Linked DNA regions of Homo sapiens: regions 1, 2, 3, 4 and 6 are each linked to region 5. The links are contacts of gene promoters, found by promoter capture Hi-C in blood cells and fetal thymus (Javierre and others, 2016). All regions are on one chromosome and are shown on one strand. Each heading gives the region's core, a stretch centred on a gene start or on the middle of the fragment in contact. The rest is flanking DNA. Distances are from core to core; before and after follow the strand shown.

Region 1 (4,040 bases), core at 242-2,741, 320 kb after region 5:
TTTGTAATCTGGGAATGAAAGTAGAAATGTACTCCATGATATACTCTTTAGAATTGAGAGGATATTGGAGAGGCATAAACCAAGAGGCAAGGTGGGCATAATTATGCAGGGCCAGATCAGTAATCAGAATGGTTTGACCTGCAAGGACCTTTAGCTTCAGCTTTAATACATGGGCAGTACACTAAGGTTTTACTTCATCTATGTATTATAATTGAAAATCCTAACCCTAGCAAATAGAAGTGTGGCTTGAGGGACCACAGTCTCATAGTCTCTTACTTCCCAGAACTGAGTTGGTTCATAGACCAAAAGCCCCTTCCATGAAATGGAGACTGGGGACCCTTGAAGCCAAGTTCTTTGAAAGTGCATCAAAAGGCTTCCTTTTAGCATTCCCCAAAGTGATCTGCAGTAATTCACGAGGGTAAATGTACAATGAAGAAACTAAAATAGTTAGAAGTTTTAGGGATTATTGGAATTGTCTCTGAGCTACAGTTAACTCCAGGGACATATAACACCACTACAGTCCAACAATCAGAAGAAAAGCTTAAGAGGGTTGGGTGATAAATGGAATATTTGACAAAATCTATCTCAGTGTGTTCATTCTGGGTCCAAGCATTCATCCTGTATTTATTTTCCAAGTTCCTGTATTTAGAATTAGAGAAGACCTTACTCAGCAAGTGGCAGAATTCCTACATTGGCTCCCTGACTGTACTGTGTCATAACCTAGTATTCAGGGACCTTGATCATTTCACCATTTCACAGGACATAGACCATGGCCATGTAATTGATGGCAACCAGTCAATGAATCTGCTGAGCATAAATTAGCAAATACACAAAATGCCTTGGCAAGACATATATGTGACTAAGGATAAGAGAAAAATTCCATAAAAGTTCAGAGATCTACTAACTCATTGATGTTTCTGGGGGTCTAGAGATCTGGAGTATATTGAGATATCCCCTTCAAATTGTGAAAGTCAATTTGCTGTACCTTCTTGCGTCCAGTTCTAGGAAGAAAGAGGCACAAATACTTGGTGGACTTTCAGTATTATACAGGCAAATTAACTGGTATTCTTCCTTCCTCCTTATTGATAAACCATAGGCTTTATATTTAAGGAAGGTCCCAAACAAAATAATATTCTTTTGCCAGTTCAGTTTAAAGAATAAACCTCTCTTGCCACTTAGCCCTTGGGACCGTAGAGTGAGTGACTGTGGCAAATCAGGATACCATATTGATCCTATGGAACTCCTGAATAAGATAATAATAGTACAGATCCCAGACTTGAGCGTAAAGTCATACCTCTTTGGCAAATAGCTATTTTCCTTGAGAAACCTCACTTAGTGGTTGTTATTTGGTACTGGTAGAGACTGAGTGTCTAGACATAGGAAATCAACTGATTATGTATGAGACCCAAGCTGCCCACCTGAATCAGATGCGACTTGATTGACCTATTTGAAAATGTGGATGTGCACAGCAGCTCTCCATAATCAAGTTGAAGAGATATATACAAGATCAGACTTCACAACTGCTAAAGGCATAAGAAAGTTTCATGAGCAAGTGGCTCAAACTCTCCTTCTAGTCTTGCTGTGATGCCACATCTCCTTAGACCCACATATACAGTGTAATGGGAATTTCTCTATGGACAGGATAGAAAATGTCCAAGGCTGATTTACTGATGTTTATGCATAATACACTGTCATATGTAAACTGATACAGCATTGGAGCTCTCCTCACTGTCAGCCATGAGAAACAAGTGAGAAGATAAATCCTCCCAATAAACAGACTTTGAGTGGTACCTCAAATTGTATACTTTGCCTGCAAGGAAAGATAATCACAGTGCAATTCAAAGACAGAGCTGAAAGGTTGGGTTAGATGATGAGAAAATTGAAAGGAAGAAGATTGAAGGATGATGACAAGGAGGTTTAGGGTAGAGATACACGTATGGATATGGATGGACCTCTCAGAATGGGTTTATGATATCAGAATACTTGTGCCCCATGTAAATGTCCACCAAAGGTCTCCCACTGCAGAAGACACCCTCTCAATAATCAGCGGGCAAAAGACCAGTACTGCACATGTCCGTTTTCCTGTCTCCCTACTCTCACTATTGTTCCTCGATGAGTTCAAGAACAAAGTGGCCATGGTGACAAAGATGAAGGTTATGCATGGACTCAACCACATGAAGTTCCCCTTACCACAGCAAATCTGGCTACCACACCACTATTGAATGCTTGAAACGCCAGCATAGTGAGCCCTCCATTTAGCTCTAAACCTGAGGGATGAGGAGGGAACAGCTAACCTCCTGTTGGCTGATCATAGTGAACCTCTTTCATCATGGAGTTGTAGCAGTTTTTCTCCCTGGAATGGACATGTGTTCTGGATGTAGGTTTGGCTCCCTTGCTATGCTTCTCTTAGCAATACCGTCTGTGGACTTACTGAAAGCTTAATTCACCCACATTAGTCCATACAACACTGCCTCTGGCCAAGGATGCTATAGGGCAGGGCATTTCCCACAGGATTCATCGATCGGTCATACCATAACCCTGGAGCAGCTGGCCTTAACAGAGCAAAGCAATAATCTATTACACATTCTGTTTTAGAGCCGGCTGGAAGACATAAGGCATGGGTACTGGTATAGAGAAAATAGTATATGCTCTGAATCAACAACCAATATATGGTCTTGTTTCACCCAAGGACAGGCCACATGGGTCCAGGAATCAAAGGGAAGAAGCAGGAGTGGAACCTCTCACATCACTGGGAGTACTAGATTTAGTAGATTATAACTCTAGCCTTTTAACCAGTTGCGAAAACAAGGACCGTAGCCAATATTCATATTTCCCTCTTTGGGTGGTAGTGCATATGTTCATACCTTAACCCATTTCCTTTTTCCCCTCTCCCTGTTGTGTATTAATTTATACAGGCTACACTGGTGGTGATTACCTTTATAGCTTAGGCTGTAAATGACATGTAGGTACTTTTATAAAACTGTTGCCAAATGTCTCCTTTCTCTTATTTAAGTGTCCATGCAATAAATTCTTCTTGGAATTAAGTTCCAAAAATAAGTCTGCATTTACAGAGGAACTTATACACACCCCTTTACTAACTAATGAAAGATGTACAAATCCAGCTTGTTCCTCTTTTGACTTGGTTGTCTGGAAGCTCAGAACTTTCTGTAAGCTCTACTTTATGATTCATTCAACACAGGTTTCCAGGACCCAAGCTGCTCTCTTCATTTATTCTAAATGGTTTCTAATCAGCGTTTTTCAATTTAACTTTTGCTTACATTGGATTTTGGTACATTTTAGTAGTGCATGTCACTTCAATTCCTTTTCATATGTACTTAAGTAAATACGTAAGTAAGTAAATAAACTGCGCCTTTAGTGAAGTAGTTTGTGGCTTCCCCTTAGCAACTCTGTCACACAGTAGCCTGTTCATTCGACCAGTATTTATTGAGTACTTACCATGTACAGACATGACAGGCCTATACCCCTCCCACCCTTGTGTGTGTCTTCATGTCCTTGACCATTGCTGTGATTTCACGTCAGATGGCCCATTGTCAACCTCATGAGCAGTGCCATGGGGTAATGGATTCCTGCTCTTATTTGGACTGTCTTCCAGAGCCTATTTCTGATTGTTCCTCACTCCCATCCCCTAAAGTCTGCCTTCTACTAATGGGTGCCTTTAAATCCAAATCAACCCTTAGATAACATCTTATAATTTCTGAATTCTCTGATAACTTTTATACTTTCATATTTTAGGTTAACTGGAACCTCATGGCTTTTACAAGCTACCCCAAAACCAAAATGGCCTCATCCTGAGAGCCAAGGGCTTTCTTTGTTTTGAAATAAAGAAGTGAAATACGTGGGTCTGGGCAGGGGTAATGTTCTCAGTGAACACAAACATTGTAGTTTCTAGAAAGACGTGTTCTTCACTGGTAACAGTGAACTAGCATTTCAGTTATAAGTCAGTCTCTTCAGAGTTTGATTGGTAAAAATAAATGGATTGGACTATACACAATCTACTCAGCTTTTCTCTTTTTCTATTG
Region 2 (4,699 bases), core at 105-2,604, 400 kb after region 5:
TTCGGAATTGGCTGGGCGCGGTGGCTCACACCTGAAATCCCAGCACTTTGGGAGGCCGAGGCTGGCGGATCACGAGGTCAGGAGATCGAGACCATCCTGGCTAACATGGTGAAACCCCGTCTCTACTAAAAATACAAAAAATTAGCCGGGCGTAGTGGCGGGCGCCTGTAGTCCCAGCTACTTGGGAGGCTGAGGCAGGAGAATGGCGTGACCCGGGAGGCGGAGCTTGCAGTGAGCCGAGATCCCGCCACTGCACTCCAGCCTGGGAGACAGAGCGAGACTCCGTCTCAAGAAAAAAAAAAAATTCGGAATTATTTTCTAATATAAATTAGTAAAAGAAGGAAATAATAAAGAACTAAAAAGTAAAAATAAAAACCAGAAAATAAAAATTCTAAAACAAAAATAATAAAAATTGTAAACGTAATTGTTAGAACTAATGAGACGATTAATGAGAAAAACAAATACAAGTTTTGTACTATTATGGAAATACTTACTTCATCACTTTCTACTAGATTCTCAAACTGAAAGGACAAAAAAGTAAGCGTTAAGAGGAATATTTGTCTTAGGTATACATCTCACAAGAAATTATGTTACTTTTTTCACTTAAAAATAATATACCTTTATATTTGTAAGCTATTTAATTCAAATGCCTCTTTAATACATCATTTCATTTGATATATTTAACAGTCCTACAAAATGGCCAAGACAAGCATATACTATTTTAATTTATGACTTTCTATGAATGAAAATCAAACAGGAGAATTATAGCAATTTTCTACATAAATCAGAACTAAAACTTTCATCTGAATTGAATATTTCATACAAGTAATTTCATTCCATGCTACCAGAATATTCCACTTCACTTGACTACAGAACAAATGTTGTAAGAAGGAAAATTATTCAAGGAATGGGGACTAAAAGATACCAAATAAGAATTTCCCCACGTTTATATTTATCCGTCTATTCATTCATATAGTTATTTACTGAAAATCTACTAAGTGGTAGTTACTATCCCCAAATACAATGTCTTTCTAGAGATAGGAATGTAAACAGTTTGATCATAATGTGCTTAACACTATTATGTCAGTGACCTAATAAAAGTCATTACTATTATATCACTAAAGTGTTTTTATTTTAAATATAAATAACTTGATAAGTAACCACCTGAAATAAAAGGTGTTTTATTGTTAATACTGTTTGGCTTAAAGATTGAGAGAAAACAATGAATTCAAAAGGTTTAGAAAATTAAGGAATCTCTCTGAAAAAAGAATAAAACTGTTAAAGTTATTATCTTTATCTTTTTTTATATTAGTTTGTGATTTTTAAATATCTAATTCCTGCCTTACACATTTCCTTATTAATATAGAAGGCCATAAAGTACAGTGTTCCAGCTTTGAAGCCAGGCAGTTTGGACTAGAATTTAGGTTTTGCCACTTAATAGGTTGTGTAATATAGCCCAATTTCTCCACCTGTCTAAGCCTCTGATTTTTCATCCATGAAACAGGGTGACCACCACCTGTTTACAAGAGAGTTGTGATGACATTCTTAATTTGTATGGTGGAGTGGCTAGTTTATAGTAGGTAAGGAATAAATGGTAGTTTCTATTATTATATTTTACATTCAAAGAAAAAGTGACTCGGTCATTCTGCTGTGGAGTTGCTTAAACTCAACTTCCTGCTTTGTTTCTGGACTCCCCCCTGCTGGGGCAGGCCAACCACCTCTCGTTATACCCTAGTGAGCCACTATTACTGACAGAAGAGTACCTTCTCCCTGACTTATAGGGTGGGGGAAAAAGCTATTAGAAAAACAGAACCATAATCCTCTGCAAACTTCTTCCTACTCATTCCTTCCCTCACTGCTCCAACTCTTTCAATCTTCACTAACATGAATAATATTGAAATATAAACAGTCCATTCTAAATTTGGGTCCAGATCTTTCCCTCTTTACAACAAAAAGCCCCTTCCGCCTTTCTGAAGGCATTTTTAATTCAATCAAATTAAGGACTACTTACCTCTATTGTTAAGTGCTCACCTCTTGAGCATGTTCTAAAATACTTGGATCTGGGAAGGAAAACAGAATAACTTTAAAAAACACAATTAACTCTAAGATTGAATTAATATATAGCATAAAAACATTTATTTCCTCAAGAGCAACTTTAAAATCTCTAACATATAGTTATATTTATAAAAAAAGAACAACAAAATTTACCTAAGACTATAAAAAGTCCAGATTTTTAAACTTCATTATGACTTTGTTTAGTCAATCAATATTTCTTTCTATTGGCACTAACACTTACTAAATCTGTAATAATTAATTTACTATATTTACTACATTGAGTAGAATACATTTTAAAATGTATCTCATTATTTTTACTACATCAAGAAAAGTACCTCGTTAAAAAATACTGATGTGTTAAATAATATATAAAAAGAATATGTTCTCAATTTTGTTAAAAATACACAGAACATTAAGTATCTAAAAGTATATATGTCAATATGCTAAGAGTAGTTATCTTTGGTGGTGGAATCACGTGTCTTTATTCAAGACTTTTGTTATCTTCCCATGCCCTCACAAATAAAAGAGAAAAACAATGCATATACATGTCAATCAAACAATCCATTACATTATTTTTTCCAACTAGGGCCAAATATTGACTTTATTTTAATCATTCTTTCCTGCTCCTATTAAACTTATATGTAGTCAAATAGGAATCTTCTTTATTATATCCTCCAAAGATATGTCTACATTCTAAGTACTACAGCATCCAAGCTGGCATCCCAGGAGAGGGCCACTCACAGTCCTTTGTAACTGGAAGTGCCAGGAGATTACGGGACTTTCAGTCATAATGTGGCTCCTGTTACAGCTGCCAAAACTGATGGAGAACTCCACTGCCATACAATGGGGATCCAAATTTGTACTAAGTGTTCTTAAATCATCAGGATTCATGGACAGAAAGCACACTTTTAAGAAACAAGGAGAATCCTGGGGTTAGGACAGGTCAGAATTCTTTTGCTTTTCTTTCTTTTTTGGAGACAGGGTCTTACTCTGTCACCCAAGCTGGAGTGCAGTGGCGCAATCCTGACTCATTGCAGCTTTGCACTCCTTGGCTCAAGTGATCCTCCTGCCTCAGCCTCCCCAGTAGCTAGTAATACAGGCATGCACCACCATGCTTGGCTTCACTTATTTTTTTGTAGAGACGAGGTCTCAATGTTACCCAGCCTGGTCGCAAATTCTTGGGCTCAAGTAATTCTGGGACTCCCAAAGTGCAGAATTCTTTGTATTATGTGTATGTGTGTGGATGAAGGTTTAGTGAAAGAGAATGCCATATCATGACTGAAGGAAAAAAATAGCAATGAAATTATGGGAACTATTTTTCCTGCTATAATCTTTATCTGCTGATAGATGCAAATCTGTGTTATTGTCCACTAAGATCATTGGTAAAAAGCAAAGAATTTGGTATTACAATTCCACAGATTTCATGGACTATATCCAACATAAATGCAATACCCTTAATCCTCTATCTAGTGCCTCCACTCTTCTCTCTCCTTTATTTCTCAAACAAATACAGAAATGAGTTGAACCTTCAGTAGTAGCACTGGGTTCTGGCATTAGGATTCCTGCTTACAGTGCTATATGCTTCTCTCCCTGCAACCATCACTATCTTCCCTGAATGGAGAATCTGTCTCTGATTAATCTGTTTCCTCCTCCAGGTTAGTGAGTGGTACAGCTGAATAATTAGAAATAAAGCCCAGTAATACTATCAATAGGAGCCATCAGTATGACTTCACTGCTGTGGCAAAGCCCAAAGCTAAGTAGAACATTGTCGAAACCAAGGTAACTGTTACACTACATTTGTATTAGATGGCAGAACACCATGTTCTAGTCTAATTATACATAGATAATACAAACTAACTTTAGTAGTAGGCAAAAGTGTTATCTGTTGTAAATATCTCCCTTTTCTGTCCCCTCTATTCACAGCCAGCTATAGTGAGGACACTCACGTCCTCACATGACTCTGAATCCCTGAGTATCTGACTAAGCTAGAATCAGTCAATCCCTCACACCTCATTTGACTGGTTCAGGGTTACACAGAAACTGAGCAGGGAGAGACAATATCCTTCTGAGAGCTCTAGAGAGTTGCTGGGGATTATGCTTTCTGACAATGCGCAATGAGAGGAATGAAATAAACTGAAAGAGTGCTCTGACAGCATCAAAATCATCCCTAAGAACCAGATGCATTCCACCCTGCTCATGGTTTGGTTATTAGTTGAGAAACCTAACATCCCTATTACAAATTCTACCCTTTGCCTAAGATAGTTTTAATTGGGCTTCTGTCCCCCACAAAGTCCTGATTAATAAACATGAATATAAGTGATATGACAAGGGAGTAAATTAAGAATAGCAATAAATAAAACAAGATAAAGAGAAAAGCAAAATATATTTGAGAGAAAAGCAAAATATATTTGGGAAAAAATTCAAGCTTTCCTTTTAAAATGGATTAGATTGAGACTTTGTTCACAAAATGCATATCTTGACTCCTACCACAATAAAAGCTAAGATTATACTGATAAAGTAAATACTCGATTTGGCAAACTCAGGGTCAACATTTTTATCAGGGGAGCTTTATCCTGTGACTTATCTGAAAATACCAAGAAACATAACATGTATATATTCCATGAATTAAGTTACTTATTCAAGT
Region 3 (4,256 bases), core at 323-2,822, 470 kb after region 5:
ACCAGCGTGACACTTCACAGGTAGAGAAGGAAGAAGGAATTTGCTGTTTCCTTCGGATGGGTTTCTTAATCCTGTTAAGTCTCACTCTAGCAACAATTCTTCACTCCGACAGCAATAGTGCCTGCTAGTAGTAGCAGCTGATTGCAATTTGGGGGTTTTCCAACACTTGTAGAACCAATCTCAATGTGCCTTCTTGAGATGCCAGCTCCAATTACTGGGTGCTTCTTCCTCAGATACCTGGTTCCCAGGTCTATAGGCTCCCTCCTCTGAACTCAGAGAAATCAGTACCAGGCAAGCAGTGACCTGTTCTCAAAAGTCTGAATTTCAGTTCCATGGGGGCCTTTTTGAAGCTTCTCAGTTTCAGTAAGTCCATCCATCTCTTTTTCTTTCTGCCCAGTCCTATGAGTGGTTGTCTTGGTGATATTTTAGTGCAGTGGTTTTTAAACTTTAGCATGCGTTAGAATCCGCTGGAGGGCTTGTTAAAGCACAGCTTGCTGGGCCTACTACTAGAGTTTCTGATTCAGTAAGTCAGGGGTGAAGTTGGAGTCTGAGAATTTGCATTTCTAGGAAGTTTCTAGGTGATGCTTATGATGCTGATCTGGTGACCATGCTTTTCCAATACCCAGTTAACAATTACTTATATTAAATTATCTTTGTTAAAATAATTGGTATAGTTTCTCTCCCCCTCCCCACCGCCCCAGACCCTAGTAGAATCACAAAAGAAAAACTGTCATGTAGGTGAGATAATTATAATTTATTTAAATATATTTTATTTAGGAGGCATGATTCAAATAATTATTGAATTATTTGCTCATAGTATGTACATGATGGAGAATTTATTATACGTTTAAAAAGCCTTTAGATATAGGGCTTCACATAATAAGTATTAAATACCATTAAGTATGCCGTATAGGCCAAAGGAAAGCAAAATTAATTATCTTATAAGGGAGTGTCACAAAATCATCTGCCACAAACAGCCAATGAATTTGAGGAAATTTTAAGACATTCTTCAAACATCTGAATCAAACTTACATTCTTTTAGTAGAAACCAAAGCTTGATCATTTCAGTCATCGATCAGTAAATAATTAAAAATATTTTTTTCATTAAAGAAATGGCTATATGAAGCCTTATTTTCTATTGTACACATAGAGTTTAAAATAAATCTTTAAGGGAAGAGTGAAAAAAAATCTAACTTTTGTTTAAAATAGAAAATCAGACAAAATGATTTTCAGTATGACTTTAAGAAATGGGCTTTTCCCATATACTAGTAATTTATGTACAGTAATGAGTACCAAGGGGGACTGATGAGGTAGTAGAAAAATGAGACTCACTGGGGCATCTTTGTTGAGTCTACATCATGTGTTCAAGCCAGATTTACTTTTGAGCTATACTTTTATATAATTTTTTTTTTTGAGACAGTTTCTTTCTTGTTGCCCAGGCTGGAGTGCAATGGCACAATCTCGGCTCACTGCAAACTCCACCTCACACTTCAAGCAATTCTCCTGCCTTAGCCTCCCAAGTAGCTGGGACTACAGGCATGCACCACCATGCCTGGCTAATCTTTTGTATTTACTAGAGACAGGGTTTCACCATGTTGGTCAGACTGGTCTTGAACTCCTGGCCTCAGGTGATCCACCTGCCTTGGCCTCCCAAAGTGCTGGAATTACCAGCGTGAGCCACTGTGCCCGGCCTATTTTATATAATTTTTAAAATTACTTTTGGATTTTCACTTCTATCAGAAAAAGAGTGAGAAGAACAAAATGTTGTAGAGTTATCTAGGGAGTTCACATCCAGGCTGCAACACTTTAACTGAGTGACATGACCTTAGCCAAATTACTTCACTTTTCCTGAACTTCAGTTTTCTAATCCATAAAATGATTTATGTGATCCTTTTTTGATACTGATAGTTTTCTCTTAAGTTATAATTTGTGGATCTTTTCTTTTTTTAAAAAATTGATTTCTAAATTATTTTTTCCTTCACTGATATATTATGACTGGGTCAATTTTATGTTTCTTGTACTTTGATATGATCCATAACAATATACTACATTTTAAAAAAACCCTTATTCTTGCCTAATATTAAAGCTTTCTTTTCTTTAGGGTAGAACTTGAAGAGTCCTCGATTTAGTATGTAATTCTGCTGATCCCTCATCCCTCTCTATTTCTCCAGTGTTCAGCATGTTGATACTGTTTCTGGCCTTTTTTTCTTCATTTTTTATTAAAGTTCTTAAAAAAATTTTTTTTTTTACTCTTCCCAATTTCTTGTAATCTATGCACTCATTGTACTTTGGGGTTTTTTTTGTTGTTACTGAAGCTTTTTAAGACTTTTTTTTTCAGTATTTTTGTGGTTTTAGTACGAAGAAAGTACCCTAATCTGGATGTGGTAGGTACTGTCTGAAGGTTTAAATTCTTTGTAAAATAAATTAAATCTACAAATGCTTGTGGGTTTTTCAGGGGAAGAAGGAGGTGTTGCAACACTTAAATCAAAACAGAGAGTTAGTAAATCAGGCCAGGCGAGGAGACAGCAATGCTCACATTATCTCAGATCTTGAGATCAGCTGGTGGGATTGAGACTGGAAGCTGAAGACCCAGTAAGGACAGGTCTGGGCAAGCTGTGGCTGTTGCAGCCTGCTTCTTCTTCTTTTTTTTTAATTATAAAAAAATTTAAGCACACACAAAACTAGAGAAAATAGTATAATAAACCTATATACGTATCAACCAGATTCAGTAATTTCTAAAACTTTGCCACCTTACTGAAATACTTCTTAATCTGGGTAATCTGATGAAGAAGAAAAAAGTTTAAAAAAAAATCACTAGGCTAATGCCTAAAAGTAACATATCTTCACAAATGAAGTTCTGTAGAAACATCAAATATATCCAGCAATGAATTGGATAGGGGGTTCAAACAACCCTAAAGGAAGACATTTAAGAATGTGGAAAGGGTGTCAGTTTCCAGGCAGGCAAAAGAAAAAAAAAAAAAGAACGTGGAAAAGGAAAATGATCAATATTCTTCAATCAGTGAGATTATAGTCAATCTCATTACAGTATTTTATGTATCTAGGATATCCTCTCAAATAACACAGTTCTAAAGGATACAAAGACTGGTGTGTTGGTAAATGTTTAACAATGGGCTTTGTTGGGGGTTGGGGGAAGCTCTATTTTACAGCGTTTGCCAATTCTGTTGTGATTTCCAATTTCTGTAGTGTTAGTACTTCCACTGTGGCCAATTTCAAACTATTAACAGCCAGCTCAAAAAGTTCCTGAAAATTTAACAACTTGCTCTTTGACGATTGGTAGGAGCCAGCACCAGCACTTCACTGTAGGAATAAGAGATACTTGAAATAAGTTGAGGTAAAGGCCTGCACGGTTATAGTCGATGAGTTTGATCCCTCCCTTCTTTCCACCAACTGGTGCATTTCTATTTTTTTTTTTTTAAGTTTACAACATTGACAAGCTGAGATAATTAAGTAGAATTAACTTATTACAAATATATTGCAAGTGGGTAAATTGTATTAAGAAAGGACTATATTATGACTTGAGTTATGAGATACAATGAAATGCATGTGGTGTCACAAAACTACTACAAGTAACAACATATTGCTTTTTCTGGATTGTCTCATGCAGCTATCAAAAGGTCATCCGATTCAATTATTTTTAGAAGTTCTTGTTTACAATAAAATTTAAACCATCTGGCTGATTTGTGAGGACGAGGGCTCTCTTGATGCTCCCTAGGTCAGTGAATGGTACCACCATCCATATGCCACATCCAAAGGTCAGAACTCTAAGGCATTCTTGACCCCCTCCCTCTCCCTCTTCCCCATGACCCACATCCAGCTCATCACCATATTCTCTTTGTTTTACCTTCTAAGTATTTCTTTAAAGTGTATATACTATTCCATCTACTGCTATAATCCTAAGAGTCTACTAAGATCTCTTGACTATTCCAATAGTTTCCTAACACTGCTACTGCACAAGTCCATTAGCTCCCCTATAATCTATATACCACAATGTAGCCACAGTGGTTCTTTCCAAGTGCAAATTCAATCATGCCACCTCCATCCTGCTTTTAGGATTAAGGCCAAAATCTTTAACATGATCTATGAGGCCCTGCTTAGTCTGGCTTCTATCTGGGTCTCTGGCCTCATTCTGTCATCAGCCTTCCTGTCTTTATTTCAGCCACAGAGGTCTTTCAGCTCTTGCTCGCCACAGGGATTTGCACGTGCTCTTTTCTCTGCTCAAAAAACTATTTCCTCTC
Region 4 (4,247 bases), core at 214-2,713, 330 kb after region 5:
GATCTTTATGAATGACAGGTTACTGTTTTGCCTTACTTAATGTAGTGGAATAAAGCAGACAAAGCTTGAAAAAAAATGGGCAAAGTTTGAATAGACATTTCTCCAAAGAAGATATACAAATGGCCAATAAGTACAGAAAAAGTCCCCAATATCACTAATCATTACAGAAATGCAGATCAAAAGCACAATGAGACACTACCTCACACCCATTAAGATGGCTGCCATGAAAAAATCAGAAAATAACATGTTGGAAAGGATGTGGAGAAATCAGAAATCTTATGCAGTATTGTCACTGTACGGCAGTTCCTCAGAAAGATAAAAATAGAATTACCATATGATCTAGCAATTCTACTTCTACATACACCCAAAAGAATTGAAAGCAGGAACTCAAGGAGATATTTATATACCCATGTCCATTACATGATTAGTAATAGCCAAAATATGGAAGCAGTCCACTGAACGGATGAATGGAGAAACAAAATTGGTATGTACATGCAATAAAATATTATTCCACCTTAAAAAGGAAGGCAATTCTGACATATGGATGAACCTTGAGGACAGAAGCCAGTCACAAAAGGACAAATACAGCATGATATCACTTATATGAAGTACCTAGAGTAGTCACACTGATAGACACAGAGAGGAGAATGGTGTTTGCCAGGGGCTGGGGAAGAGAGAAATGGGAGTTATTCTTTACTGGATGCAGAGTTTCAAATTTGTGAGATAAAAAAGAGTTCTGTGGATGGATGGTAGTTATTGCAGTGCAACAATGTGAGTGTACTTAATACCATTGAAATGTGCACTTAAAATCGTTCAGATGGTACATTTTATATTATGTGTATTTTACCACAATTTTTAAAAATTATTGAAGAATAATCAGAAGGAAATACAATAAAATGTGGAATGTTTGCCTCTAAAGTGGTACTTTTCTATTGTTTTCCTCTTCCTATTTTCTACAATGACTACGTATTGCTATGTAGTTAGGAAAAAATAACTTAACTCAAAAGTTTCATATGAAAACTTACCCAAAGTTTCGGTTCATTAGATTTCAATCCATTCCTGATTTAGAAGAACTTCCTAGTTAAGAAAAAGACATAAAAACAGAGGACTTTGTTATAAGAAGATGGAATAATCTCTATTTCTTGCATTATGTCACAAGCATTGTTGCATGCTTGCTATTCGAAACAGCGGATAAGGGAACAGGAAGATCAAGTTCCTGAGTTGCAAATGAGTGCAGAGAAGTTACAATTGTATCATCACTGTTCATCACTTTAGATATAAAAGGAAGAGGAATGTTACATCAAGGGAGACCAGATCCTGTCCAGAGTGCTTGACTGGGGACAAACCTCTTTTGGTTTCCTCCCTCCCTTAAATAGGGGAAAGGGCTTCAAATTTCTCCTTAAACTTCAACCATAAAGGAGAGAAAACTCAACATCAGAGTATGAAACTATCAGTGGTGGTCATATCTGATAATTTTATTATGCATGAAATAAAAGGACTTTGTTGAAAAACCTCTGGGGTTGACATCTTATCTCCTGGAGTTCTGCAACTTTCATCCACTGACTTTAAAAAAGTCTATTTACTACTTTTGGGGCCTGCCAGAAAAATGGGAATCCCCCAGTTATTTATACAAAAATGTTGCTAAAGAAGTTTGCAATAATAATTACTACTTTATTGTATATTAAAATGACAATGTGGCCGGGCACAGTGTCTTGCACCTGTAATCCCAGCACTTTGGGAGGCTGAGGCAGGTGGATCATGTGAGGTCAAGAGTTCAAGACCAGTCTGGACAAAACATGGTGAAACCCTGTCTCTACTAAAAATACAAAATTAGCCAGGTGTGGTGGCGCGTGCCTGTAATCCCAGCTACTCAGGAGGCTGAGGCAGGAGAATCATTTGAATCCAGGAAGTGGAAGTTGCAGTGAGCCGAGATCAGGCCACTGCACTCCAGCCTGGGCAACAGAGTGAGACTGTCTCAAAAAAAAAAAAAAAAAAAAAAAAGGCAATGGATTACTCTTCCCAGTAATTTACATTTTTCAACTCTCCTATAACCCTCTCAAAGGCCAGCTTATTCTCCTACAGCCCCTAAACCACCATCCTAGGTCGAGGTCTCCTGTTCTTAACTGCCACTTATGAACCTTGCTTTCACACACTCCTATCCCCACCTTTGGAATTCATGTCACCAGATTCTATTATCCCACTGCCCTTCATTGTTGCTATCAGCTGCCAGTTCTCAGGGCATTTTGGCTCCTGGATCACTTGGTCTCTCCAAATCACTCTTATTCTTCGATATTTCAATAATCATGTGATGATCCAGGACTCTCCATTCCTTGAAATCCTTTCTTCCAAAGATGTTGTCCTTGACACAACCTCAGTCATTCACTTCCATGGTCATACAGCCTAAATTTTGTTATCATCAATCACAGCAACCCTTCCAGATTTTCAAATTCACGAATCTCTCTCGCTATTCACTACTACCCATCTTGTCCCCTTTTAGTCTCCAAAATCCAACAATCCTAAAATCCCACTGGGACCTCTATGGATCCTACTCCTGAACCCTTACTGTACTTTTATGATCCGTTTACCTTCTGCTCACTTAGGTGACTATTTCACGCTGTCTCTTCTTCCTCCATCCTCATCCTCATCAGACGAGGACTTCCACAGGCTCCCACTCCCTTCTACGAATCTAACAGCAGCTGCATCCCATACTCTGTCTTCCCTTCTGCTATCAGAGAGGGACCACCCATGCTCTTATCTAAAACCAAGCACTCCATTTGGGCACTAAGTCCAACTGTGTTTCTATTCAAGGGCAGCAGTATTTCTCTCCTCTTCCTCTCTCAATCTTTTACATCGTCAAGCTTTTGCTCTCCTTTGGCTCATTCCTATCTGTTTACAAATATGCCATTATTTCTTTCATCTTAGAAGAAAAATCTCTTCATCTCACTTTCATCAGTAGTTATTGTCTTTTTTAGCAAAATTCCCTGAAAGAATTGTCTCTACTTGAGCTTCCAACCTCTCTCTTCCCATTCTCTTTTAAACGCATTCTAATTAGACTTTTGTCCCATTATGCCACTGAAACAAATTTTGTCAAAGTCACTGATCAACTCCATGTTGCTAAATCCAGCCGTCAATTCTTCTTATTATTACTTTTTTTGAGATGGGAGTCTCCCTCTGTCACCCAGGCTGGAGTGCAATGAGGCAATCTTGACTCACTGCAACCTCCAACTCCCATGTTCAAGCGATTCTTGTGCCTCAGCCTCCCAAGTAGCTGGGATTACAGGCATTTGCCACCATATCCGACTAATTTTTGTATTTTTAGTAGAGATGGGTTTTCACCATGTTGGGCAGTCTGGTCTCGAACTCCTGACCTCAAGTGATTCACCTGCCCCGGCCTCCCAAACTGTTGGGATTACAGGCGTGAGCCACCATGCCCGGCCTCCAGCAGTCAATTCTTACTCCTTATCTTAGTTGATGTGCCAAAAACATGTGACATAAAGCCTCCCTCCTCTGCTGTGTTCCAGGAAACCATACTCTCTTGGTTTTCCTCCTGTATTACTGATCACTCCTTAGTCTTTTTGGCTGGTTCCTCCTCTTCTTCTAGATCTCTTGATGTTGGAGTATGCAAAGGCTCAGTCTCAAACTATCTTCCTTTCTCCATCTAAACCTATTCCTCGGTGACTTCATTCAGTTCATGGTTGTAAATACCACATATTTATTGGTAATCATCAAATTCCTGTCTCCAGCCCAAACTTCACCTTAAACTTCAGATGCATATTTTCAACCGTAACTTGATATCTGCACTTGAGTTCACATTGAACCCCTGGTTGGCCTTTGTTAATGACTGAACCTTGTCAGCAGAGTGAAATGAAAGGCCAACTCTTGATGAGCTGGGCATTCAAAAGAGGCTGAATAGGAGCAGTTGGGGTTACCGGAAGGGCCATGCCTTGTGGAAGGAACTTGGCTGGAAGGAACTGCTTGGTTTCCTCCCGTTCACTTTCAATTTGTGCATGGGCAGCTGTAGTCTTAACAAGGTTTTCTTCTGACAACTATGACTTGGGGTGATAACTGTGTTGAGACACTGTGGGACTTCTGAAACCTGTCTGTTGCATAATAACTAAGGCTTTTCTGTTCTTTCACTGTGACTTCCTTTTTCACAAATAACTCCTGGCTTGCAAACGAGAGGTATTACCAGCCTATTCAATGTTTCCAGATTTCTGACAAGGGCTAGATAAAGAAGTATTTAAATC
Region 5 (4,605 bases), core at 712-3,211:
TAAAAAAAAAAAAACTGCAGAGACTTACACTTGCTAGTCCTTCCCACTTCTTTACCTAGTTAATTAGTACCAAATTTAGATATAAAGCAAGTAAAAAACTCAGTATTGTTGAAATTTGAATGCATTCAGTAGTAGTAATGAGTTTTATAACTGACTTTTGAGCATATTCAATTACTACAACTCAAAAGATATATACTAAATATCCATTATAATGTCAGGCTAATCTCTTGATTTAAAACCCTTAGAATTTAAAACCCATAGAATGACAAATTAGCCTGGTAATCACATGGGCAAGTCACAGACAGTTGTAACCAACACAGCTCAGTTTTTGTTTCAGCAAAATGTAAGTAACTACTAACTGGATTAATGCAGGGATTGATTTTATGATTTTGATGATCATAAATGATGAATTTGTAATTGATAAAGTTACCCTTTAAATAACAGAAGTTATTTAATGAGTTGATTAGAAATAACTCTGAGCAATTTTTGTATTAAATGTTTTGCAATCTGATTAATCAGAGCAGTATTTACATCCCTCAATTTTCAGCTGTCTCCTGAAATGCAAGCTGGTAATAGCAATTTGGATTTGGCCAAATCCTTCACCAACATTGCAAAGAGGATCAAAATTTGTTTCTTAGTGACAGCTATAGGATTGTAGGACAGTATTTCAGATAAGGAGGGCTTACAGATAAACAAACCACCACCTCAATGGTATTCAAGTTAAAACCTGTGACTGATGAGTCTACGTAAAACCAAAACAACATACTAAGTGATGATGAATGTCAGTATAAGAAAATACTTAAAATATGTGGTATGTTACAGAGCATTTCACACTTTTTAAAAAGAAAAGGATTCACTTAAATGGGTGACAGGCAGGGTAAGGGTAAATAAGATATGGTACTCTCACCTAAAAGTATATAATTTCCCTAATAGAAAGTATTGCTACCAATGTGGTATAAAAGGCTACAGAAGATAGACTGTATAAAGCGAAAAAATTATAAACCTGTATGTACAGCAATTTGTAGCGTAAATTATATAGAAGTATGGGTTTTTTGGCACATGCGTGAAAAATTTTAAGAGGTTTTCAAAAATATTTTACTTTTCTATAATTAAAATTTTAAAGATAATCAGCACATAGGTAATACAAAAAAAATCAGTGCCAATAAAAATAAGCAAAAGTTACAATTTTCCTATAGAGAAGGATGTTTAAACTGTGCTTACATATAGATTTAGTGAGGAATTTCAGCCTCTAGATTTTGCTTCAAAATTAAACCTAAGAGTTACCATGGAATTAAAACTGTACAGTAGTTTACCATAGGGAAACAAATTCTAACTTGATTTGTTTTATCTTCCATATTCAAAACATTTTCACACAGGGAAATAATAAGAGAAGAAAGGAACAAATACCCTAGGGGCTCAAAATCATTACCCGGACTTGTTTCCTGCCAGGTAGAGGCTCTGTGCTAATGATCTTCACAATCACTCCACTCACGAACTGTGGTCCTGTTGCATTAACTTTCTCCTGGGTGCGACACTCTTCCCTGTTGGCTGCTGATTAGAAAAGGAAAAAGACCAGGACTAAATCTCTTACACTTAACAACAATTTAATACTTAGGAGGACTACCTTAGAATAATTCCTGAGGCAGATTTAAATAATTTAAAACGTATTTAATTTTAAAGTAAACAATTAAAGGTTATATGTCATACTGCTTATTTCAAAATACCATGAATAAAACTCAGAAAGTTTTATTATTCTACATGCAAATTGTTACTGCTAGAAGAGCATTCGTAAAGCCTTTAAATTTGCCCCTTCTCCCTGAACAAAGGAACAGTAAATTTTTACTCAATAAAGTTAAAAAAAAGTTAAAGGATACTGTGTTTTAAATACATTATTATTCAAACGTGAACATTTATTTTTACAAGAAATGAGAATTTAAAATGTATCCTAATTTTGAATTCATAGGAATTCTGCTTTAACTTGTTCCTGCTTGTGGTGCATACTACAGAATGAAATTAACAGGTGAGAAACTACAATCTTCATTCCTACAAACTTGCTCAGTCTGCAAACTCTGCACTCATGTGCTTGATGAAAACTGTAGAGAAAACTCAGGTTATTTAAAAAATTGTTTTAAATGAGCCTTTTAAATATTCTTATATCAAGAGTAAGTAACACATCTGGATAACTTAACAAATCAAGAATTGTTCTAATAATGAAATAGAATAATCAAGTTTTTTAAAATTAAAATTTATCTTATAACAACTCAGAGATAGCATTTACATATATAAGTACATTATAATGTTGTCAAAACTATCAGTGATCTTTACTTTTTTCATTTTTCATTCCAGTGTTTTGAGGTACTCCACTGTCTGTTTCCATTTCTGACTCTGATTTTATTTGGGATATTGTTTTTTTTAAAGAAGCCATGCTAGCTTTTTGTAGCGCTAAATACTCTTTTTTCAAATCCATCCATTCGCTCCTACAAGGAAAGAAATGGTGATAACAGATGACTAAATATAAAAAGTAAATAGGGAAATATCTAAATATATACATTCACAATGACTTGGAGCAACTCCTCCACCAACTTTCCTGTTTCTTTAAACACATATTCAAAATATTTCCTAGGTTCTAAAGACATTTAGCAAAATAAGCTAAGGGAGTTCCTCTTCCCCCAATATTCAGATTAAATGTTTTAAGATTGCCAATTAAATTTTTGAGTGTCTGAAGTATTTTAATTTATAAAAGTAAAATTTTAGCATTAATTCCTTAACTAGTAACATTTACTAAATCAGTCATCTCTGTGGGAAAAGGGCGAGATTAAAGATTTGTTAAACTGCTTCCAATTTGAGAGATAACATTCCTTAGTATTTACTTGAATCAAAAAGAATTTCTAAGTAGAACAAAACACCCCGTGGAAGCAATCTATTTATTTACATACATTTAACATGTAGATGCTTCTTCAAACAGAGTTCCTCCAGATAGAAACACAATGCCTTTCTCGGCTCAGTGGGAGCACTCATTGTTACCCTAATCTATGCCATCAAACAAGCAGATAGGAGATTTTCTTTTTCTTTTTCTTTTTTTTTTTTAAGAGGAAGATATCTTGTGGTAATGGTTTTAGCTGTTAACATTGACATCTGTATACTTCAAAAAAAAAAAAAAGGATCCAGACCCACCCAGGATCATACATTCCCTGAGAGCTGATACATTAAAATAACAAAAGGCCCTTGTAATGATTCTCTGAGATAAAAAGGCAAAAGGAATTCAAGAGTTAAGAATAGTATAAATAGAAGTGGCTGAAGTCCCTGCCTTTTACCCTTCTGGAGGAGAACACGAATCTTTGGGAACTAGTTCAGGAAGGTAAAAAAATTTTTTTCTTCTAAAGTTATGCCATTTTGTTTTCTTTCTCCTCAGCTCTAAATACTCTGAAGTCCAAAGAAGTTGTATGTTGGGTGGGCTCCCTTCAACTTTAACATGGAAGTGCTTTCTGTGACTTTAAAAGTAAGTGCTTCCATGTTTTAGTAGGAGTGAATCCAATTTACTTCTCCAAAATAGAACACGCTAACCTCATTTGAAGGGATCCCCTTTGCTTTAACATGGGGGTACCTGCTGTGTGAAACAAAAGTAAGTGCTTCCATGTTTCAGTGGAGGTGTCTCCAAGCCAGCACACCTTTTGTTACAAAATTTTTTTGTTATTGTGTTTTAAGGTTACTAAGCTTGTTACAGGTTAAAGGATTCTAACTTTTTCCAAGACTGGGCTCCCCACCACTTAAACGTGGATGTACTTGCTTTGAAACTAAAGAAGTAAGTGCTTCCATGTTTTGGTGATGGTAAGTCTTCCTTTTACATTTTTATTATTTTTTTAGAAAATAACTTTATTGTATTGACCGCAGCTCATATATTTAAGCTTTATTTTGTATTTTTACATCTGTTAAGGGGCCCCCTCTACTTTAACATGGAGGCACTTGCTGTGACATGACAAAAATAAGTGCTTCCATGTTTGAGTGTGGTGGTTCCTACCTAATCAGCAATTGCGTTAACGCCCACACTGTGTGCAGTTCTTGGCTACAGGCCATTACTGTTGCTAATATGCAACTCTGTTGAATATAAATTGGAATTGCACTTTAGCAATGGTGATGGATTGTTAAGCCAATGACAGAATTTAAACCACAGACTTACTTTGATAGCACTCTTAATGGTATAACTTCTTCTCCCATTTTATGTCTCTCTTTATGTTTTTTCTTATGTTTCCTTTTTGTTTTCAAGAGAGAGCTATCTTTTAGATCTCCAGTATCCTTTTCCTCTTCAGTAGAGATTTCTATATCTTGAAATAAATAAAAAAGCTCTCCGTTAAGACATGGGGCTGTGAAATGGGTGAAACAGAAGCCAATTAAAACCTAATTAATTAAAAACTAATTAATTAAAATTAATTAGTTTTATCTAATTAAAACCTTGTAGTTTTACCTCTATTTTCCTTGGAAGCTTCTGATGCTTCCTTAATGATGTCTTTCTGAATAATTTTCTTTACTTTTGATCGGGGAGCTAGGGATTCTGCATCTTCAGAGCTGCTTCTCTTCCTCTTCCCTGTTCTGACTTCAGGTAAGCTA
Region 6 (4,569 bases), core at 851-3,350, 450 kb after region 5:
AATTTAAACATTTATCATTTCTTTGTGGTGATAACATTCAAAATTCTTTCTAGCAATCTTGAAATATACAATGCATCATTATTAGCTATAGTCACACTACTGTGTGATAGAACACCAGAACTTATTCTTCCTGTCTATCTGCAACTTTGTACCTGTCGGTGAACATCTCTCCATTCTCCTCTCCCCTCAAGGAAATTTTTACTTGGAAAAATTATTGAAAAAAGCAATACGAACTTTAAAAAAATCCGTATTCTTTTTTTTTTTTAATTGTAGTGCTTAAAAAAATTCTACGCAAGTTTACGTGAGAGGAAATGAAGAAAGCAGTGATGGGGCTTGGCGAATACACAATTGCCGTTAGACTTAAGCAAATAACTTGGGATCTGTGCCAAATTATTTAGTTTCAGCTACTATATCCAATTCTCAGGCTGTCCAGAATGTGGCAAAGCCCAGTTGAGCAGGACTGCAAGGCACTTTGGATTATCACAGGGGGAAGAATTAAGATTTAAGAAATGGGACATTTGGCCGGGCGCAGTGGCTCAGGCCTGTAATCCCAGCACTTTGGGAGGCTGAAGCGGGTGGATCACGAGGTCAGGAGATCGAGACCATCCTGGCTAGCACGGTGAAACCCCGTCTGTACTACAAATACAAAAAATTAGCCGGGCCTGGTGGCGGTCATCTGCAGTCCCAGCTACTCGGGAGGCTGAGGCAGGAGAATGGCGTGAACCCGGGAGGCGGAACTTGCAGTGAGTCCAATTCGCGCCACTGCACTCCAGCCTGGGTAACAGAGCGAGACTCCGTCTCAAAAAAAAAAAAAAAAAAAAAAGGGACATTTGGCCCTGCTGTTTATTTGGTTGGTTAGATTAAAATAGGCGTTATTGCCAGCTTGAAGGAAAAAAACAAAACAAACAAACAAAAAACCAGTATTGCTCCAGCAGATGCCCCAAGAGGGCTTCAGAAGAACTTGTCTTGGCCTTGGTTTGGAATTGCTCCTCTCCTACCCAGCTTTCTGTTATGTGGGTAGTGAAAGAGTGGCAGGCTAGGGAACTCTCTGAAAACTATTTCCAGATATTTCAAAATTTCAACTTTTAAACTAATCCTTGGTATGCAAACAGTTGAACAAATAACAGTACACAATTAGGTTCAAAGTAATAGGTAGTGATAAGAAGCTCTCATTTCAAATAGTTTTCAACCTTTGACTGACCTTTCCGTGACATTAAGCTCATTTTCCTAACAACAAATTATGACAGAGTATTTGGAGTACTTCAGGCCCCCATAAACCAGGTGCAGTCTAAAGAAAACAGCTCAATATCTGGGCCTTATTACCTTTTCCATCATCCAGGCATCACCGGATTTCCCCATCTGTGATCAGGCCTGATCACTCATGCAGTTTTTATGGTAGCAAATGAAAATAGTTTGGAAATTTCCATCTCAAAGGCCAATACTTCATGGAAAACCTTAAGAAGCGTTTTATTCATTACTAGAAACCTAGTTTATTAACATTCTTAGTATGTATTTTTGCAGTTCTTTTATATTTCATTGAATAGTTATCTTTTAAAAAACCATTTTTCTGCTAGGAAGGGAACAGGTAAAAGGGAGAGAAATTTAATGCACTGAATGTATAAAATAGCATGGGTCAAAAACTATAATATTTCATTATTACCTTGTACATGGACTACATTCTAGAAGATAAATTAAGCAAAAATGATGAAATGAAAACATATGCCTATCAGAGATCACCACTGTCAACACCTTACTATGTCTCCTAGAAAATATATGTAAACATTAAAAATATATAAACATAAGAATGCATAACAAATATAAATAAATATATATATTTAACAAAAGTCAAGATGTTTTTTAACCCTATCCAATAATGTTTTAACTCTTTGAGAGTTAGACTAAATTGACATTTACAAATAGAGAAATCAAGGCACGATGCAATTTCTAGAGGACAGGAGTCAAGTATAGACTACAAGTGACACAATTTTTTTCTTGGTTATGTCACCTGTTCAATGTACAGATCTTCTGCATAATCACTATTGGATGGCTAGAGTTGCTGACCTTCAAAAAATGATAGAGAATATATGGGACATATTCAGGCAGAAATGTTTTCAAATTCACATAAGCCAGAAGAACTCTTAGTGAGAGGGCAAACAGGCGTTGCTGTCAGAAGAAGTTATCAAGCCTGTAGAGCCTTACACTCCAGAGAATACCCAGAACCTGTTATTTTCCCCTGAGGAGGACCTCTGGTGATATGCAGATATATTAAAGATGCTCTGTGGTTGGGCATGAATGCAAATGGAGGTTGCCAGGCTGCAGGACTCATCTCTACATGCTTCCTTTCCAGGGTCCTCTAAAGGCCACAGAGCCGTATTAATATCAACCTGAGATGTCTTTCTGGAAAGACTTTCTAAGATGTTTCCAGCCTAAGAACTCTCTTATGGATTGACTGGCTCTGGGACCAAGCATGTTTTGGGGTTGGTGGGAAAATGAAGCACTGTTCCAGGCTGGTCTGTCCTGAGCAGATCAGAAGACTCACTGGTGGTAAGGCTCTTCAGAGCCAGAGGACTCTATTGCAGTCACAACTGTATGGTGAACACATGTGATAGTAATAACTGAAGCATACCCTGAGAATGACCGTGTATGGCAGATGCACCTGAATGCATGTTCTGAGCTGGGGAATCTGGGTGTGGCCAAAGTGAAGATTTGTTCCTTTTCTGTGAGGAACATCTGAGCTCCCAGCCCATCTTGTGGAACACAGGCCATACGGAGGTCCAGGTCCCAAGTTTTGAGCTGAATGAAGGTTGCCAGCTGGAGGTCGTTAGGAAAAGAATGCTAAGTGAAAATGCTAAACCACCTGCCTTTTGTAAGCAGTTGCAGTTCTCCTGCCTAGCCTGCTGCTACTAGATTCCTTCCCCTGTATGTAAGCCCCCAATAAAATGTATGTCTCGTTTGCTGGCTCTGGTTCTCTTCTTCAGCTTCTTGAGCCTGGTGCCATTCCCAGTGGCATCCACAGGGGTTCAGGCACAACAACAGCTTGTCAACTTCTAGGGTATTTTGGAAATATCCTGGGAGTCTTCCTGGGATTCACAGATGGACCAAGGACCCCACACCCAGGAGGAACTTCTAGGAGTATATGTCAAACTCAAAGACTCTTTTGGGTGTGAGCTAATTGGTTTGTATTAGGACATTTAGATTCCTATCCTTTCTCCCTCACCTAAGAAATTATTAAACATAAATAAAATGCTCACATGAAATTCTCCCTTGTTAATTTCTCATGCAATAATTTATTTATATCACTATAAACTTGTAGATATTTATTTTAATATGTTTGATATGTCATAGAGCGATAATTTTTCAAAGGAGTATTAATGTGAATTTTATACTGCTGCTTTGAAATGTATAAAAAGAAGAGGGTGAAAAAGTCATTAGAAACTTATGTTGTCTCATAGCGCAAAGGAATATTTATATAGAAAAGGAGATAATATGTGGTTACTGACATGACTAACGGTTAAAGTGGAATTTGTTAAAATTATTATTATTTTTTTTGAGGCGGAGTCTTGCTCTGTCACCCAGGCTGGAGTGCCGTGGCGCGATCCCAGCTCACTGCAACCTCTGCTTCCCGGGTTCGAGCAATTTTCCTGCCTCAGCCTCCTGAGTAGCTGATATTACAGGCGTGCGCTGCCACGCCCAGATAATTTTTGTATTTTTTTTTTAGTAGATATGGGTTTTCACCATGTTGGCCAAGCTGGTCTCGAACCCCCTACCTCAAGTGATCCACCTACCTCGGCCTCCCAAAGTGCTGGGATTACATGCGTGAGCCACTGCGCCCGGCCTAAAATTATTTTTAAAAAAAGTATTTAGTAATGCAGATAATTAAATTTTTGCAACAGAAAAGTTGCAAAGATTATAGAGAGGGTTCCTGTCTATCCAGCATACAGTTTTTCCTGTTGTTAATATCTTATGTCTACGTTCATACTTACAGTACATTTGCTACAACTAAACCAGTATTGATACATTATTATTAATCGAAGTCCATATTTCTTTTAGAATGCGTTACCTTTTCCTAATGTTCTTTTTCTGTTTCAGGATCCTATCTAGGATACCACATTACATTTAATCATAATGTTTCCTTAGTCTTCGCTGGTTTGTGACAGTTTTTCAGACTTGTTTTTGATGACCTTGAAGGTTTTGAGGAGTACTGCTCAGATATTTCATAAAATGATCCTCAATTTGGGTTTGTCAGATGTTTTCCTCATGATTAGCCTGGGGTTATGGTTTCTGGAGTGGAAGACCACAGATATAAAGTGGCATTTCCATAACAACCTATCAAAGGTATATGCTATCAACATGACTTATCACTGATGATACCAAGTTTGATGACCTGGCTGAAGTAATATTTGTCAGGCTTCTCCCCTATCAAGCTACTCTCCCTACTGCCTTCAATTCTGTATTCTTTGGAAAGTAATTCTCATGGATTAGGGAGTTGTGCTCCACCTACCTGAAAGGGCAGTATCTATATAAATTCTTTGGAAATTCTGTGTAAGATATTTGTCTATTCTCCTTTAT

The links. The method cuts DNA at HindIII sites, captures the fragments that hold promoters and counts their contacts. A CHiCAGO score of 5 or more calls a contact.
Region 1: a fragment that was not itself captured here is called in contact with the fragment with the promoter of MIR302CHG in region 5 in 3 of 17 cell types (neutrophils, monocytes and total CD8 T cells); the score reaches 9.7 in neutrophils.
Region 2: a contact is called between a fragment that was not itself captured here and the fragment with the promoter of MIR302CHG in region 5, in 6 of 17 cell types (neutrophils, naive B cells, naive CD4 T cells and 3 more). The highest score is 7.9, in neutrophils.
Region 3: a fragment that was not itself captured here is called in contact with the fragment with the promoter of MIR302CHG in region 5 in 7 of 17 cell types (neutrophils, total CD8 T cells, total CD4 T cells and 4 more); the score reaches 10.7 in neutrophils.
Region 4: a contact is called between a fragment that was not itself captured here and the fragment with the promoter of MIR302CHG in region 5, in 2 of 17 cell types (neutrophils and fetal thymus). The highest score is 7.6, in neutrophils.
Region 6: a fragment that was not itself captured here is called in contact with the fragment with the promoter of MIR302CHG in region 5 in 1 of 17 cell types (neutrophils); the score reaches 7.6 in neutrophils.

What each region holds. Positions count from the first base shown.
Region 1 is chr4:112,329,270-112,333,309 of GRCh38, reverse strand. The region is part of intron 2 of ALPK1 (alpha kinase 1); the gene reads right to left. Among named protein-coding and RNA genes, the nearest start is that of ALPK1, 34 kb to the right of the region's middle. The HindIII fragment of the contact is 1,897 bases long and covers 543-2,439 here.
Region 2 is chr4:112,250,569-112,255,267 of GRCh38, reverse strand. It overlaps AP1AR (adaptor related protein complex 1 associated regulatory protein), which reads right to left. Exons shown (of 10, transcript NM_018569.6): 2 at 2,012-2,060; 3 at 495-521. Among named protein-coding and RNA genes, the nearest start is that of AP1AR-DT, 21 kb to the right of the region's middle. The HindIII fragment of the contact is 6,257 bases long and covers 1-4,482 here.
Region 3 is chr4:112,181,684-112,185,939 of GRCh38, reverse strand. The region is part of intron 1 of FAM241A (family with sequence similarity 241 member A); the gene reads right to left. Among named protein-coding and RNA genes, the nearest start is that of FAM241A, 38 kb to the right of the region's middle. The HindIII fragment of the contact is 1,032 bases long and covers 1,057-2,088 here.
Region 4 is chr4:112,312,631-112,316,877 of GRCh38, reverse strand. ALPK1 (alpha kinase 1) reads right to left here. Exons shown (of 16, transcript NM_025144.4): 2 at 1,026-1,077. Among named protein-coding and RNA genes, the nearest start is that of ALPK1, 17 kb to the right of the region's middle. The HindIII fragment of the contact is 2,794 bases long and covers 67-2,860 here.
Region 5 is chr4:112,647,407-112,652,011 of GRCh38, reverse strand. It overlaps MIR302CHG (miR-302/367 cluster host gene), which reads left to right and starts at 1,961. Exons shown (of 3, transcript NR_146092.1): 1 at 1,961-2,020; 2 at 3,413-3,499. It overlaps LARP7 (La ribonucleoprotein 7, transcriptional regulator), which reads right to left. Exons shown (of 13, transcript NM_016648.4): 7 at 4,463-4,605; 8 at 4,178-4,322; 9 at 2,326-2,477; 10 at 1,430-1,551. It overlaps MIR367 (microRNA 367), which reads left to right and starts at 4,071; the gene lies at 4,071-4,138. MIR302D (microRNA 302d) reads left to right here and starts at 3,941; the gene lies at 3,941-4,008. It also overlaps MIR302A, MIR302C and MIR302B. RefSeq lists an enhancer at 2,419-3,141. The HindIII fragment of the contact is 6,288 bases long and covers 1-3,716 here.
Region 6 is chr4:112,200,327-112,204,895 of GRCh38, reverse strand. No RefSeq gene overlaps it. Among named protein-coding and RNA genes, the nearest start is that of AP1AR, 29 kb to the left of the region's middle. The HindIII fragment of the contact is 9,259 bases long and covers 1-4,569 here.